2 separate regions of the Homo sapiens genome follow, and region 2 is linked to region 1. The links are contacts of gene promoters, found by promoter capture Hi-C in human tissues and cell types (Jung and others, 2019). All regions are on one chromosome and are shown on one strand. The core of a region is centred on a gene start or on the middle of the fragment in contact, and the rest is flanking DNA. Distances in the headings are between cores, read along the strand shown.

Region 1 (4,108 bases), core at 860-3,359:
GCAACCAGGCAGGGTGGAGCTTAGAGTCCTAGGGAATGTCCCCTTACAAAATCAAAGTTGACAGTTAACTGACATAATGGCACTGACTGATGGAGGGGTTATATGCCCCTGGAAGCTCATTAAATTTATTTCTTGGCCTGTTTATGTGCCTTCACAAACCATACCCCACACCTCTCCCAGCCCTTTGCTTGCTGGTACTTTCTGCTGCTGGGGTTAAAATGCTGGATAAGAGGAAAAGGGATAAAAGAAACTAGAAACTTAGGGTGATCAAGAAGAAAAGGTAGGAAGAGGGCAGATTATGGGAACAAAGGTGGAAACTCAGAGCTCATGGGAAACAGATGGAAAAAAGGGGTGAAGCAAAATGGGGAAATAAAAAATATACAATGATACAGTGGGGGAAGGGAGTAAAATTAAGTCAGCAGGGAAGAGGTTTTGTTGTGCGAAGCTCCTGGAAAGGCAGATGACACGCATGAGACCAGAAGGTGAGGTTCTGATGAGGGAGACAGGCACATGGCAAAGGGGACAGTCAACAATGCTAGGAAGTTCCAAAGCTTCTCTGGTGATGGTGGAAGAGGAGGCTGTCCTGGCCATGCTGAAGGCACTAGAGGCTTTGGCGAAGACACATTTGCTCCATCATCCCACTCCTCCAGGCCCTGACTGTGACCACCACAATCATGACTGATAAGCAAATTCCAAAGTAGCCTGAAAAGGCCAGAGATATCCAGACAGACTCTGAAGGAGAGGGCATGGAATCCTAGACCGACAGAACAGGCAGCCAAGGCGTGACACATAGTGATAGAGACACACAAGGAGAGGATCACTCAGATGGGAAGGGTCACAAGTGGAGACAGTGACATACAGATCCAGAGATGGATGGGATGGAAGAGACAAGATGAAGAACAGCAAAACCAAAAGTCAGGGACACATGGACAGAGATCAGCGGGGCTACAGGCACAGCGAGGAAGCGTGGTCCTGTGCTTGAAAATGATAGGGCTGCTCAGAGGGGCAGACGAGCGGATGGGGGTGGTAGGATGGGCGTGCAGGACAGACACGCTTCACCTTGAATGGGCTTATGGCCTCCCCTCACCTACTCAACACTTTCAAAAAAAGGAATGGAAAGCCCAACTTCAGCCAAAAACGAACGAAGACTGAGAGTATCCACGTCCCCTCCCACTCCACGCCCCAGCGCGCTAGCCCATCCATCAGCCCGCCGGCCGCGGTTCTCCCATCCCACAGCCGGCGGGGGGCCGCCGAGACCCAGGACCCTCCAGGCTGACAGCTCTGAGCCCTCACACTCACCGGGCCTCCCCTTCCCCCCGGGATCCCCGCTCCCTGCCCAACTCGGCGCGGTCCGTCTAGGCTTTCCATACCCTTCGTCTGTCCGGCGGGCCTCTGCCTTTCCCGTTCCCGTTTCTCCCTCCACCCCCGCATCTCTCTTCCCCCATCCTCGCGCACGCCCTCTTCCTCCCACACCCCTGTCTGCTATCTCCCAGGGCTCTCGGTCTGTCTGTCCGTCCGTCCTTGTCCCCTCCCCCAGCCCCTTCCCGTCCCTCTCCGTCCCCTCCAGCGGCAGTCTCCAAGCGCCTCCTCTCCCGTCTCGAGCTTCCAAAGAGCAAGGAAGGGAAGAAGAGAGAGAGGGAGAGGAGAAAAAAACCAACCCAGCAGCATCGGAAATCGATGCACTTACACCTCAGCTGGAAGCAGGGACGGGAGTCGAACCGCGGCCACCGAGCAGCGCGAGGCGGGGAGGGGAGGGGGCGGCTCTTGGAAGGGACTTCTCCGATGTGTTGATTCCTCTTTTTTCCCCTCCTCCTCCCTCCCTCCAGCGCTCGCTCCGGGGCGTCAGGGACGGAGACGGAAAAAAATAAATAAATAAATTCACGGCGGTGAGGGAAGTGAAGGAAAATAATCAATGCTATTTGGCTGCGGCTGAAGTGTTTCCCCGGCTTCGTGAGGGGGTTTCCATTGATTCACCCTGGGCACTCGCTCGCTCCCTGCCTCCTCCTCCTCCTCCTCCTTCTCCTCCTCGCCCTCCTCCTCCTCCTCCTCCTCGCCCTCACTCCTCCGCCTCATTCACTGGCTGGAGTCTAGGCGTCCCACACAATGGAATAATCAATACCCAGGCGCCCGGGGCTGCCCCACTGAGCAGGTGCAGCGACCCGCCCGCCGCGGCGCATGCCGGGAGTTGTAGTCTGTTCGCGCCCGCCCGCCTGCCTCGCGGGACCCAGGGCCGGGGGCAGGCCGGCCAGCCCACCAGGTCGCCTCCAGGTTCAAGCCGGTGCCTGCAAAGAGGGCAGGCCCCTTTAAACTCTTTTCCGTCTCCTCTCCTCTTCATCCTGTGGCCTGCAGAAACCATACATGTGTTTTGTTGTTTTGTTTTAAATCAGCTTCAGAACAAGCCCTGAGCCGCCCAAGGCCTCCTTTTTTCATTCTCTTCTTCCTGCCTTATTATTCCGCCTCCCCCATCTCCCCCCGCGAAATTGGGTACTAGAACCTTCTCTACCGCAGCAATTACTCTTTAGTCTCTGAGAGCTTCTGCCTCCTCCACACGGTTACATAGTCCCCTGAGCTGGGTTGGGGGAGGTTCGGGCTCCTCCTCATCTTCAGTTTATCGCTTATTAAGTGCTCCTGAATTTTTTTTTTTTTTTTTTTTCTGGAGACGGAGTCTCACTCAGTCGCCCAGGTTGGAGTGCAGTGGTGCGATCTCGGCTCACTGCAACCTCCACCACCGGGTTCAAGCGATTCTCCTACCTCAGCCTCCTAAGTAGCTGGGATTACAGGCATGCATCAACACACCCAGCTAATTTTTGTATTTTTAGTAGAGACGGGGTTTCACCACGTTGGTCAAGCTGGTCTCGAACTCCTGACCTTGTGATCCGCCTGCCTCGGCCTCCCAAAGTGCTGGGATTACAGGTGTGAACCACCACCGCGCCCAGCCCGTTTTTTTGTTTGTTTGTTTTTTTCTTGAGACAGAGTCACTCTGTCGCCCAGGCTGCAGTGCAGTGGCATGATCCCGGCTCACTGCAACCTTCACCTCCCAGGTTCAAGTGATTCTCCTGCCTCAGCCTCCCAAGTAGCTGGGATTGTAGGTGCCCACCACCATGCCCTGCTAATTTTGTATTTTTAGTAGAGACGGGGGTTTCACCATCTTAGCCAGGCTGGTCTCGAACTCCTGACCTCAGGTGATCCACCGGCCTCAGCCTCCCAAAGTCCTGGGATTATAGGGGTGATCCACCTCACCCGGCCGCTCCTGTATTCTAATAATAATTTTTAAGATTTCTTGAATGCACAGGGACAGTTCCAAGCACTTTTACATACATTGTTTACTCCTCTCAATACCTCAAGCATGAGGTAGATGCTATTATAGTCTCATTTATTGAGGAAACTAAGGCACAAACAAGTGAATTAACAGGCCCAAGGTCCAATGGCCAATAAGTAAGTGACAGTGCCAGGACTCAAAAACCTCCATGGTCTGGCTCCAGGGCCCATACTAACTGCTATAGCCTACTTCTCTTAAACAACACAACAAAACCCTGAAGTTCACATGACAAAAAGGAGAGATAAATGAACATTTTGAGTTTATACTATGTGACAGTTTATGACTGAATCCTCACAGGTAACTGTGAGGCAGGCCACATTTTCTCAATGAAAAAGCAGAGGCTGGCCGGGCATGGTGGCTCACTCCTGTAATCCCAGCACTTTGGGAGGCTGAGGTGGGTAGATCACCTGAGGTCAGGAGTTCGAGACCAGCCTGACCAACATGGTGAAACCCTGTCTCTACTAAAAATACAAAATTAGCTGGGCGTGGTGGTGGGCACCTGTAATCCCAGCTACTCGGGAGGCTGAGGCAGAAGAATCGCTTGAACCCGGGGGGCAGAGGTTGCGGTGAGCCAAGATCACACCATTGCACTCCAGCCTGGGCAACAAGAGTGAAACTCCGTCTCAAAACCAAAAACAGGCCGGGCGTGGTGGCTCACACCTGTAATCCCAGCACTTTGGGAGGTGGAGGCGGGTGGATCACAAGATCAGGAGATCGAGACCATCCTGACTAACAGGGTAAAACCCCATCTCTACTAAAATTACAAAAAATTAGCCGGGCATGGTGGTG
Region 2 (4,348 bases), core at 126-2,625, 360 kb before region 1:
ATAAGGTACCACAACTAGAGACAGTCAAAGAGAATTCCTAGGATAAGAGGGTGAATTAGGACCAGACAGCCACCCCTCCAGAGGGAGGGCAGAATGGAGGACTCAAGAGGATGTCTCCCAGAAAATAAAAATGCAGCTGAGGATTACTTGATGTTTGGCAGCCTGGAACATAGTACCCAGGGGGCGGATTTATGTTTTTATCTAATGAGTCTAAGAAGAACTAGCGATAGTGACACAGAAAAGCAAGCAAATGAAAACATGAGGCAAGTATTAACTTCAAGGAATTGTTTGATTTGGCTCAGCAATAAAGAATATGTAGATAGTCATAATAACGCATACCAGTAGAAGATTTAACAAAAAAAAAAAAGGAAGAATGGAAAGAGAAGAAGAGTGGGGGTAGTTATTAGAAGTTTTGTAGTACAATATGACTTTTAAAACCATATACTATCTTTCTTTTTTTCTGAGATGGAGTGTCACTCTTGTTGCCCAAGCTGGAGTGCAGTGGCGCGATCTTGGCTCACTGCAACCTCCGCCTCCTGGGTTCAAGCGATTCTCCTGCCTCAGCCTCCCAAGTAGATGGGATTACAGGAGCCTGCCGCTACGCCTGGCTAATTTTTGTATTTTTAGTAGAGACAGGGTTTCACCATGTTGGCCAGGCTGGTCTGGAACTCCTGACCTCAGGTGATCCACCCGCCTCGGCCTCCCAAAGTGCTGGGTTTACAGGCATGAGCCACCATTCCTGGCCTCATATACTATCACTTAAAAATTAAAAACAAAAGAGGAAAATAGGTAGCAGACAAGCACTACATAAACATGGCAGCAATGGTATTATCAGTCACATTAGAATTTAAGGCAAAAAGCATCAATATATATAAAGGAGGCCAATATAAAATAATTAAAAGAACACTCAAGAAGATATGACAATCTTGAACTTCTAAGTACCTAAAAATAAGGCTTGAAATAGATGAAGAAAAAATTGATAGAATTGAAAAACAAATTTGGAAAATTTGCAATCATTGGGAGAAATTTTAATGTACCTCTATTAGAAGCTGATAAATCAGCCAGGCGCAGTGACACACACCTATAATCCCAGCACTTTGGGAGGCTGAGGTGGGCAGATCATCTGAGCTCAGGAGTTTGAGACCACCCTGGGCAACATGGTGAAACTGCATCTCTACTAAAATAAAAATTATCTGGGCGTGGTAGCACCCACCTGTAGTCCCAGCTATGTGGGAGGCTGAGGCATGAGAATCGCATGAGCCCGGGAGATGGAGGTTGCAGTGAGCCGAGATCGTGCCACTGCACTCCAGCTTGGGCTACAGAGTGAGACTCTGTCTCAAAAAAAAAAAAAAAAAAAAAAACAACGCTGCTGTATCAAACAGGCCAGAAAAATTAGTAAACAGATAAAATATTTGAACAAATTAGCAAGCTTGATCTAACAGATTTCTAAAGAACTGTGCATTAAAAAATAGAGACTATACATTATTTCCAAGTATGCATGGTATATTTAAAAACATTTCGATTTACTGGGTCACAGAGGAGCTCTAGAAATTTCAAAGATGTGAAATCATACAGCATCACACAGATTCTTGGGTCACAATGAAATTAAATTAGCAATCAACAATTAAAATAGAAAATAAGGTAAAGACTTTTGGGAAATTTGAAAATGAACGAAATAACTCGGTTAAATAATAATAATGGAAATGAAATAACTAGAAGTTAACTGACAATGAAAGTACTGCATATAGGAGCCAGGTGTTGTGGTGCACGTCTACAGTCCCAGCTATTTGGGAGGCTGAGGTGGAAGGATTGCTTGATCTCAGGAGTTCAAGTCCAGCTTGGGCAACATAGTGACACTCTGTCTCTAAAGAAAAAAAAAAAACCCATGAGATGCAGCTAAAGTAGTATTCTGAGGTAAATGTAAAGTCTCACAGATTTAGAAAACATGGAAGATTTATAATAAATGAATTAAGCTATCAGAGGAACCAAATGGAATTATAAGCGCTTGACTCGTAGCCCATCTTCACCATATCTCTTGTCTACCTCTAAGGCTTCGATGTCCTTTGTTCCCATGATTCACCCTCACTGCTCTGGAACCAATTGTTTTGTAATGCTCTTCCTTCATTATAGTCTCATTTCTATTCAGTAATTCAATTTAGTGCTAATTCTCCCCTACTTCATGCACTCATTTCGTGTGCTCAGTATCTTCTTCCAACACTCCCTGGACCTCCACACCTCAAATGAAACCTGTGCTCTCCCGACAGCACATCCACCCTCCTAATACTCCTCAGTAGAGATGGGTCCTTGCCATGTTCTGATGGCACCTGGACGGTGGAAGGGACTAGCATGTATTGAGCAATCACTATGTGCCAGACACTTCATGTAACAAGGAATTTCATCATGTTTAATTTCGTTTAACCTTCCAAACAACCTTTCAAGGTAAACGTTGTTTTGCATTTTACAAAGGAGGAAACGGGTTCAAAATTATGTGACTTGCCAAGGACACACACAATGGCAGAGCTGTAATTGGACTCTAAATCTTGATTGACCTCACTGCATTTGCTCTTTTCACTGTGCCACGGGAGAAAAAAGGTACAACATTCTTTTCTGTCTCAGTTGCTTTCAATCATGACATTGTTATTTCTCAATTCTTCTCTGGATGCTTACTACCACTTGGTCACATCCTCAATTGCTGCTGTCTACTGACCTCTGAAAACTTCCTTATGAACGGGAGCACCTGGCTTAGCATTTACTCTGCAAATCAGAGCCTAGACACTTAGCCACCATGGAAAAGTGCCTTTTACCAGGTGCCGAAAAATTTCTTTCTGATTGTAACTACCAATCCTCTGAGTGCCCACTGTCTCTCTGTCATTATTCTTTCTGCTCTTTCTCCAGCCTGCCCCGCTCCGCCATTATCATGCCAAAATGCATGGCCCAACCTCCAGCTGGCTTCCAAGCCCACTCTGCGTCACCACTGCTCTCTGTGCCACAGCCACACCAACCTCCTTTCAGTCCTCAGATGACCTACCAAAGGGCTCAAAAAAACAAAAACAAAAACATAGAAACAGGGGCCTGCTCTGTCACACGGGCTGGAGGGCAGTGGAGTGATCATAGCTCACTACAGCCTTGAATTCCTGGGCTCAAGCAATCCTCCCGCCTCAGCCTCCTGAGTAGCTAGGACTACAGGGCTGCACCACCATGCCCAGCTAATTTTTAAAATATTTTTATAGAGATGGGGTCTTGCTATGTTGCCCAGGCTGATCTTGAACTCCTGGTCTCAAGCAATCCTCCTGCCTAGGCCTCCTAAAGTGCTGGGATTACAGGCATGAGCCACTGTTCTAGGGCCCAAAGGGCTTTTTTTGTGTCCATGCTCTTCCTTCTGCCTAGAGGCTTCTCTTCGCCCTTAGCCTAGTTCACTGCTATTCATCCTTCTGATTTAGCACAATTGTTACTTCCTCAAAGAAGCCCCCACCCACCCCATTCCTGGCCCTAGAGTGTGTTCTTTGTTTCAGAGTCCTCACTTGTGATAACTAGAGTGATTTTATGATTAATGTCTACCTCCCCATCTAGACTGCAAACTCCATGAGTGCAGGGACAATGGTGCTTTTTTTGCTCACTAATGTCTTCAGGGCCCAGTACAGTGCCTAGGACTAAGTAGGTACCCAATTTAAAATTGCTGAATGAATGTATATAGGACATGTATGTGGTAACACTTGGTGGACAGTTGGATATATGGTATCCCTAGCCCAGGAGAAAGATTTGGGCTAAAAAATCATATTTAAGTGTTATTAGTACATAAGTGGTCACTGATGTTATCATCCAGAAAGGGTGAGAAAAATATAACGAGAGGCCAGGCACTGTGGCTCACGCCTGTAAGCCCGGCACTTTGGGAGGCTGAGGCAGGTGGATTTCATGAGGCCATGAGTTTGAGACCAGCCTGGCCAACATGGTGAAACCCTGTCTCTACTAAAAATACAAAAATTAGCCATGTGTGGTGGTACATGCCTGTAGTCCCAGCTACTTGGGAGGTCGAGGCATGAGAATTGCTTGAACCCGGGAGGCGGAGGTTGCAGTGAGCTGAGATCATGCCACTGCACTCCAGCCTGGCAACAGAGCGAGACTCCATCTCAAAAATAATTTTCACTAATTTGCCTATATTAAAAGTAAATATTAAATAAGCAAATTAAAAATTATTTAAAAAAACAAATATAATTAAAAAATAATAAAAAATATTGTATAATAAAGAATTTCAAACATTCCCCAAAGGAGAGAGAATAATACAATGAACTCTCATGTATCAGAATCCTCACCCAGATTCTACAATTATCAAGATTTTGCTATGTTGTTT

What was found. The method cuts DNA at HindIII sites, captures the fragments that hold promoters and counts their contacts. A contact is called where the count stands out against the background at its distance.
Region 2: a contact is called between a fragment that was not itself captured here and the fragment with the promoter of ZFHX2 in region 1, in 1 of the 25 tissues and cell types used here (adrenal gland).

The regions. Positions count from the first base shown.
Region 1 is chr14:23,549,656-23,553,763 of GRCh38, forward strand. It overlaps ZFHX2 (zinc finger homeobox 2), which reads right to left and starts at 2,110. Exons shown (of 10, transcript NM_033400.3): 1 at 1,688-2,110. It also overlaps a transcript of THTPA not described here. RefSeq lists enhancers at 902-1,564, 2,414-2,463 and a silencer at 2,044-2,283. The HindIII fragment of the contact is 20,255 bases long and covers 1-4,108 here.
Region 2 is chr14:23,193,397-23,197,744 of GRCh38, forward strand. It overlaps LOC105370406 (a long non-coding RNA gene), which reads right to left. Exons shown (of 4, transcript XR_943606.3): 4 at 1,486-1,864. It also overlaps a transcript of RNF212B not described here. Among named protein-coding and RNA genes, the nearest start is that of SLC7A8, 12 kb to the left of the region's middle. The HindIII fragment of the contact is 4,786 bases long and covers 1-3,768 here.